Regions from separate parts of the Homo sapiens genome. Here regions 1 and 3 are each linked to region 2. Evidence: promoter capture Hi-C in 16 types of primary human blood cells and fetal thymus (Javierre and others, 2016). All regions are on one chromosome and are shown on one strand. The core of a region is centred on a gene start or on the middle of the fragment in contact, and the rest is flanking DNA. Distances in the headings are between cores, read along the strand shown. Region 1 overlaps PRKCE (protein kinase C epsilon). Region 2 holds the start of PRKCE-AS1 (PRKCE antisense RNA 1). Region 3 overlaps PRKCE (protein kinase C epsilon).

What was found. Contacts are between HindIII fragments. The CHiCAGO score rates a contact against its expected background, and 5 or more counts as called.
Region 1: a fragment that was not itself captured here is called in contact with the fragment with the promoter of PRKCE-AS1 in region 2 in 2 of 17 cell types (naive B cells and total B cells); the score reaches 5.5 in naive B cells.
Region 3: a fragment that was not itself captured here is called in contact with the fragment with the promoter of PRKCE-AS1 in region 2 in 2 of 17 cell types (total B cells and naive B cells); the score reaches 6.1 in total B cells.

What each region holds. Positions count from the first base shown.
Region 1 is chr2:45,786,909-45,789,608 of GRCh38, reverse strand. All of the region lies in intron 1 of PRKCE (protein kinase C epsilon), which reads right to left. Among named protein-coding and RNA genes, the nearest start is that of PRKCE-AS1, 110 kb to the right of the region's middle. RefSeq lists an enhancer at 2,059-2,700. The HindIII fragment of the contact is 676 bases long and covers 953-1,628 here.
Region 2 is chr2:45,674,267-45,676,966 of GRCh38, reverse strand. PRKCE-AS1 (PRKCE antisense RNA 1) reads left to right here and starts at 1,447. Exons shown (of 2, transcript XR_940049.3): 1 at 1,447-1,657; 2 at 2,060-2,700. All of the region lies in intron 1 of PRKCE (protein kinase C epsilon), which reads right to left. The HindIII fragment of the contact is 8,353 bases long and covers 1-2,700 here.
Region 3 is chr2:45,763,086-45,765,785 of GRCh38, reverse strand. The region is part of intron 1 of PRKCE (protein kinase C epsilon); the gene reads right to left. Among named protein-coding and RNA genes, the nearest start is that of PRKCE-AS1, 89 kb to the right of the region's middle. The HindIII fragment of the contact is 1,882 bases long and covers 510-2,391 here.

The sequences.
Region 1 (2,700 bases), core at 41-2,540, 110 kb before region 2:
CCCAGGCTGGAGTGCAGTGGCATGATCATTAGCTCACTGCAGCTTTGAACTACTAGGCTCAAACAATCCTCCTGCCTCAGCTTCCTGAGTAGCTAGGACCACAGGCAGGAGCTATGCTCCACTGGAGTTACAGTGATGAGTTACATGCCCATATGATTTAAAAAATTTTTGTAGAGCCAAGGTCTCACTATGGTCCTAGGCTTTTGTCAAACATACACATTAGCACAGTGAAAGAAGACATGCAATAAATGCATGAACTGTGAACAGTATTTTAATAAATGTATTAAATAATATGGTCAATCTTATGGTCTCTGTACACAAATTTCTGAGTTATCACATTATTATACAAAATCCAGAGGCACCTTTTCTTTTGTAGACATGGGATCTTGCTATGTTGTCCAGGCTGGTCTTGAACTCCTGTCCTCAAGCAATCCTCCTGCTTCAGCGTCCCAAAGTGCTGGGATTATAGGCATGAGCCACCTTCCCCCACCAAGAACCTGTCATCTGTCTTAAAAGACACAAGTCTTCAGTGCGGTGGTTTTGCGAGGGTCTAAGTGGGTGGTTCTCCACCTTGCTTGCACATTAGAATCCCAAGGAGAGTTATTAAAATGCATGGGACACATCTCCAAAGATTCTGATTTAATTGGTCTGGGGTAGGACTAGGTTCTGGTATTTGAATATTATTTGAATATTCAGCCAGAGTTGAGGACCAATGGTGTAAGTCAATGCCCTTCTCTGATTGACCTATCCTTAAACATATGAAGCTAAAGAATCAGGAAATGTATCTTCATATATTTCTTCAGACCTAAAAATCCCGAGAATAGCACTACTTTGCCTACTTTAGACAGAAAGTAAGTAATAAAGGCATCTGAATAGAGAATTAGATTTGATGTTATAATGTCCACATACATCCCTTTCAGACGGAGTGTCCCTCTGGTCCTCATGAAAAGCTTGTTTCATTTCATGCACTGTTGAAACAAGATCACTTATCTGGTTTCTAAACCAACAGCTGATCAGAATCAAGTAAATTAGAGGCAATGGAGGGGTAGGTAGAAAGGATGAGAGAGGCTGTGTAGAAGCAGGCCCCCTGATTGCAATGAGAAGTGAGTGCTGATAGAGAAGACACAGAAAAACTGAAGTAAGTAGACACTGCACGTAAAAACACTGGAGTCAGGATTCTCTAATGAAGGGACAAACACCTTGATGTATCCAGAATGGCTCTGTGAACATCAACGTGCCACTGCATAGCAACATTACCGATGCTCCTAAGAAAAGCCCAGAGTCACCAAGGATGAGTTAAATTATGTTCATTATAACCATTTTATGAAAGCTGAAATAGGGGTGATGACTTCCATCCAAAATAGTAATAATAAAAGGTAAGTGTAGTTTAAGGAATACGCCTTTAGCTATTTGGAAATTGCAGTCACCCAGAACAACCCATGCCCTGAGAATCCCAAGTAGCCACAGACTTCAGTAGGAGACACTTTGGCAGGAAAAGTTTCGGCTTGACCAGGAAGAAATCCTGTCCCTCTCAGAGTCAGAACACGGTGAGGCCTGAAATGGGGGAGAATATTATTGAACGATCCTGACCTTCAGGGTTTCTAGGCACACACAGGGTACTCCAAGCTTTCATTGAAAACCTAACATGAGAGACAGCTAAGACAAAGGGAGAGCAGTGAGAAGCCTCTGTGGCTGGCAGGATCGCAATGCTCTGGATGGGCCGCTGGTTACATATCACTCCCCTGCACAGGATCTCCAGGCCTGCAATTCCTTGCTGAGAACTTCATCCCTTGAGGTCATACATCCCACTACCCAGACACTTTCTTTAGATGCAAAAATCCATGGGATGGTTAATACCTGTATCGCGAACCCTGAGCCAAGTTGTCAGGTCTCTTCTGTTGATACGGTAAGCCTTGTCGTTTTCAATATCTTTCCCCTCTCCAGATGAAATCTTATATGGAACCCAAATATATTATAAAGAGAAAATGGGATACCCCTGGTTGAAGGGCTTTCCATAGCATGAGTCTTGTCACCCCTCCCTCTCATCAGGTTCCCATGAAACACCTGTTTAGGAAACCATCTGGAAAAGACCTGCCTGGCTCCATTGCCTACAACTGAACTTCCCCTCCCCAGACGCACCTGCAGGCTCAGTCCCATTCTGTGGCCAGCATTGCCCAGAGGTGATGACTGGTCAGGGGCCTCTCAGCTGCTATTCAGCTCAGATGTCTCTGACTTTGTGTCTCTCTCTCTCTCTGTCTCTGTCTCTCCCTCTCCCTCATCACATTTTATCCTACTAGGCTATTTGTTCTCCAAATCCACCCCCAAAACTATCTAGGTGTGATCATTGAGTTCCTGTGCCTGGAATCCCGTTTTGGTCAAGCTTCCGAGCCTGCACTCAGCTCCAGCTATCACCAGCTCCTGTTGAGAAGCTCAGCGCCCCCAGCAGGGCTGCCAGCTACAGCCACGCTCCTCCCAGCTTGGGGGGACACCTCACTTCCAAATGGCCAAGTGTAGATTTTCCCACATCCACCAGCAGATAAGATTCACTCAGGGTCTCTATTCAATGTGCAGATTCCCAAACCCATAGGATCATCGGATCCAGGGGAAACCGATGGGAAATCCCGACTTGAACCAAAGCCTCAAGTGACTCACCAGGCGAGTTTGAGAAACACCAGCTTCCTGGTTAACAGTGAGGTTCTG
Region 2 (2,700 bases), core at 198-2,697:
ATGAACTATGTCATAATTGCCTGTTTGAGTATCTGTCCCCCAATTGGAGCATGAGCCCTCTGAGATTAGGGTACCTATCTAGGCATGTTCCTGGTTATATCCCAAGACCTAGCTTGATGGCAGGGGCTCCCTAATGATTTATTAAATGAATGATCTAGAAACTATGAAGAAAAGAGGAAAGAATGGAGACACTTGATACCTCCTTCCTTCCCCAACCAGCAGTGACTGACCACAGAAGGATGGGCCTGCATGGCCTTTACTCGCTCCCTCCTTAGAACCTGAGCTGAGCCTTCTATTACTCTCTTCATTATCACAACCTTTCATCACAATGGGGCAATATGTATGTCCAGTCAAGAATGAAACAGGCAATGGTGTTTGTACGGACTGGGCTACTTCCATGTATGGATCAGAGTTTATATCCCAATAGAACCATCTTCCTCTCTATCCATACTCTAGTCTTATAAACTTAGTTTTCCTGTTAATGCAAAAATATAATCCTTATTGACGTCATTCTGACCTGCATGTATTAAGAGAGGAAAAGGCTCTGTATCCTTTAAGAAATTATTAAAATGTTTTAAATTGTTTTGTTGCACTGGTTTCAGTTTAAAAGATCTCTTTTGCACAGCAACACTTCAATCACTAGAATACTTGCATTATGAGGCAAATAGTTACAAGAAACAGGCTGCTGGGGGAACAAGCACAGGTGAGCAATGGAAGGTCAACAGAGCCAAACACGCGGCAGAGAAGCAACAGAGGGTTCCATCTTGAGACTGGGAAACTTACCACTGATAATGACCATGTAATGACACCCCCAGTGAAGCTATCCTGAGGCTCCCTGTACTTCACAAGGCCAAGAAAATCCCGTCACGCCAATGGTAAACAACTTCTCAAAACAAACAAACAAAAAAACAAGTCAAGCATTGGTGTCTACTAGGCCATGATTTTAGAGCCAATGTAGAAAACATTGTAGGAGCTACTGCCAGGTACCGGTGCTGCTTGAATAAAAGCGTGGAGTGGAGGCAGCAACTATTGAAAAAGGGGAGTAAAATGCTGAGACGCTTCCACAGCCAAAGTTCACCCCTCCCCACCCACCTATCCTGCCAGCTGGAGGCTTCCTGGTGGAAGGCCACCTCTCACCAAAGTCAGGCCCATCTGTGAGCTGAGGGCCAGCTCCCCGGAGACCCCTGGGAATTCTGAGCAGTGCCAGATGACAAGCAGAGGCCTGAACTCTTCTGGCATGACCTTGGGCCCAGTACCTCCCCGCCTCCCCTCCTCCCACCTACAGTGATTAAAGATAACCCAGCCAAGCAGCCTGGCATGTTGAAAAGGAGCAGGGCTGGAGGGAAATGAGGAGGACCAAACCGGGAAATGCACCACTGAATTTCCTCAAACCACATGGACCTTAAAACTCGTCAGACCGGTTTAAAATTAGCCAATACCCAGGAGAATAATTCATTAAATGCAACTGTTATGATTCATTTAGAATTCACTCCAATTCTGAAATGATAAATGACAGTGCATTTATGTATAAATGACAGTGTATTCATCTCCCCAAAGCTGGTCACAAGTGCCCTCACTGCTCTGGAGTAAAACATGGGCTAGAAACAAGGAAGCAAAGACTTAAAAACAGCATCATGTTTATTCACTGGAGAAAAAGGTGAGCTGAGAAGAGCTGAAGGCCTGGGCTAAGGTGCTAAGGGGCACGCTGGGTCTTCCTGGTCTGGGGAAACGTTTTCTGGAAAGGAGACGGCTTAATGTACATCTACAGAGTGTTTTCTTGTGCTATTTTGTTTTGTAACTTACAGGGGATTTTTCTCTTTATAATTGATGAGGTCCAGTCTCCAAGATCTGCCTGCTGTCTTCCTGGTCAGCCAGGCTTGGAAACTCTCACCTCATCCCTTCCTTTCCTTCTCTGACATTTAATCAGCATTGAATTAAAATTAGGCATATGGATCACCCAAGGCAAATGGAAATTAAGATACTGGATTTATAACATGCATAATCCAAACACAGAAAATCTTGCTACCAAAAATAATCATGTCTCTCATCCATTTCCCAGACAAACAGTTCAACTGCCTGCTTCACTTTGCCTTCAAGTTTATCAAGATGAGGCCGAGAATTCTCATAAACTCCTCAAGGACACCAAAAGGAGTTCCTGTAGACTCACTCAGAGTCCTTTCCCTCCTCTCCCTCAAGCAGTGCCCACCTCTTTTCAGGAAGCATCTTCTCTTTTCCATTTGACTTTCATAAAGAAGCTGGAGTTTTATTTTTCCTTGGCCTCCAATCTGTGCTTTGGGCTGTGCCATAAAATTCCTCAGTAATTTATGACCTGTTTTTCCTTTAAAGTGGAGAAGCACTAATCCCTCACAGAGTGGGGAGACAAGCATTTCCAAAGTGAGGTAATCTAGAAATATATGCACTGACCACAGTGAGTTGGGCCCTGACTTACAATTGAAGGCTCATGTAAAGATCCCTAGCCCTTGACACAGAGTATGATCTCAGAAATAGCCTGGTCTCCAGTTAGTACCTGGTTTGACAGAGTCCTCTTGACCCAAAAGTCCATCTTTTCCTGTCACTGATATCTGAAAATTCCAGACATTGCCATGTCACCCTCCAGATAAAGGAAGGCCTCCTCCACAGCACTCTTCTAAAGCACCAGTCTTATATATCTCATTACGGCCATCTACCTCAGTGTAAATG
Region 3 (2,700 bases), core at 201-2,700, 89 kb before region 2:
AGTTCTGGGAAGCTGCTCTGGAGACAGCCCAGGATCCCACTGGGTGGTCTCATCTTTGGGCTTAGGACGTGGGGGTCAACAGTCCAGAGTTCTATTTCCAGCACCATCAGAACTTTGGCCAAGTTACTTGACCTCTTTTCATAAATGCTTTCCCCCAAATGAAAAGGAAAAAGGGGAAGAGGAAGAAAGAAGTGAAAAAGAATGACACCACTGCAGAGGCAAAGATGAGGTATTGAATGAAGAACTTTGGAAGCAAACCACAAAAGGTATTGCTACACACAGCACAACAGCCCTGCAGGGAGGTAGTAGAATTTGAGAACGAGGCCAAACGGAGATGGTTACTCTACAGCTTCAAGGCACCGGGGAGTCCAAATGAAGCATCTCCTCAGCACTCTACCTACAGTTCACACCTTACAACCCAACCTGGAGACTCCATTGGCCTTGGCCATTAGTTTGACCTTTCAATAAACATATTGTTTTTATTGTCAAGAAAACCTCTTCAGAAAGCTTATTCTCCAGGCTTACTCATCATGTGGCTGCTTCTTATAAAAAACAAAAATAAAGGAAACACTGAAGAATTAAGTAAAAATTAATTAGAAGCACATGGTTAAAACAGGCTTAGAGTTATGCATGGCTTAAGAACGTATTAAGGGTAAAGCGTTTCCTCCATCCAGACTTGAAGATTTGCTGAAAACAAGGCCCGTGTGAGTGGGTGGGTTTTTGAGCGGCTGGCATTTTGGACTGTACCAGGCCAAAGCCACAGGGAGGAAGGCTATGGTTCACATGGGGTCCACGTCCTTCAGCATGTTTGCTCTGCTCTTGATGTCAAGGAGAGACCTGAGAGATGCCAGAGACTCCATTGTCTCTAAGGCATTCAAGTAGGACCATTGTGTGAGACATAAGAACAAGAATAAAGACAGGAGTTAGGAATATTTTTAATATATGTTGATTTTAATGGGTTTAAAATATATATATAGTCTAATTCATTTGCAGCAGAATGAATGGCAATTTCCAAGCTCAAAAATAATAGTAACCCCAGCCTCAAGTTTCTGGCATGGAAGTAATAATTTGAGCTTATTTCTAAATGGGCTTACTAAATGAACAGATCAATTTTTTCTCAAATTTATGATATAAAAGAAATGGATGAAAAGAAATTTGGGAAGCTGAAACCTGCTGTCACCTACCTCTTTCATTTAGCCTCAGATCTGAATTGCCCTGTCTGGTTTCGGGGCCATGCCTGTCCCACTGCACACATTCGAGCTGCAGATATTCACTTTCACATGCAGGGGTCATGTCTAAAAACTGAACCCTGATTGCAACAGAAGCCAGTTAGAAGATTAATTAGTTAAGTATTTAATCAATTAATCCTGAATTAAGATCCCATTTTGGCTTTACTAGCCATAACCATTTCTTTCTTTGAACTAAAATCTTCTGCCTTCATTTATAAGCTCTTAAACCACGTGTTTGAATTTCCTCAGGTGGGCTGGAATTTTACCCCTCTTGTGTTGCAGAAGTGTAACTTAAATGGGCCAATATTTTCACCTACGGACATTCGTACAGGTGGGCTTTGCTTTAAGAAACTCAAGGAAATTAGCGTTTTAAGAACAGATAAAAACAATTCTTCTTATTGTGGGAGGACTCTTTTTGGTTCCTCCTAAGATACACTGATAACAAGAACTCCTGGGGTATTGTAATTGAAGCACTGGCCCCAACCCAAGGGATCGCAGTTCAGGACATCAAAAGATCCTTCTAGTTTTGAGATTCTGTGGTTGATACTAAAAATCAGAACCAACCTAAAACATAAGCAAGACGGCAGAGGACTGGGAAGGGAATTTAATTAGGTAAAAGGATGTCAGATCTAAGTGGAGAAACTGCAGGCATACAAGAAAGAGTCCACCAAAACAAACACCAAAGCTCCCAATCTGTTCAATTCGGCTTGGGATTCTTTTAACAAGGTGTGTGTCACTTTTCCCTCCACCGTGAGAGAGAGCCTAGAGCTGGCCTTCTCTTTCCCCCACTGATAAAATGAGTGGGTTAAACTACATGATCCCTTGGGCCCTTCCTGACTTTAGCGCTCACTGAGTCTGGGCAGAAGGGCAGCAAAAGACAGCGGAGGGAGCCTGAGACTAGCAGCAGCATGGCGGGTTATACCAAGGGAGATTGCAGAATCAAGCCCTACACTGAGTATTACTAAACTTAAATGCTGAAAACTGTCCTAGAAGAGGGAAAATCAATGAGGGCTGAGGTCCTTTGGAGACTAGGGAGGGGGTGGGACGTGAGCAAAGCCTTAACAATTCCTGTACTAGGCTGCACAACATTAGGTCTAGGTCCAGATGGTGAGGATGAAAAATGTTATGAAATCATTTCAGCCCCTGCCCTTTAGCATAAGCTTAGGCTTAATCATCCACTAGACAGGTCTCTGCTGTTTTTTACTGAAAAGTTCCTTATCTAACAAAGAAATGCCCCTTCCATTCACAGGCCCAAAGCAAAGCACACCCAAGATGTAGACTGGCCAAAGAAAGAACACCTCAAGGCCAGGAGCAGTGGCTCACGCCTGTAATCCCAGAACTTTGGGAGGCCGAGGTGGGAGGATCACGAGGTCAGGAGACCAAGACCATCCTGGCTAACATGGTGAAACCCCATCTCTAGTAAAAATACAAAAAATTAGCCGGGTGTGGTGGCAGGCGCCTGTAGTCCCAG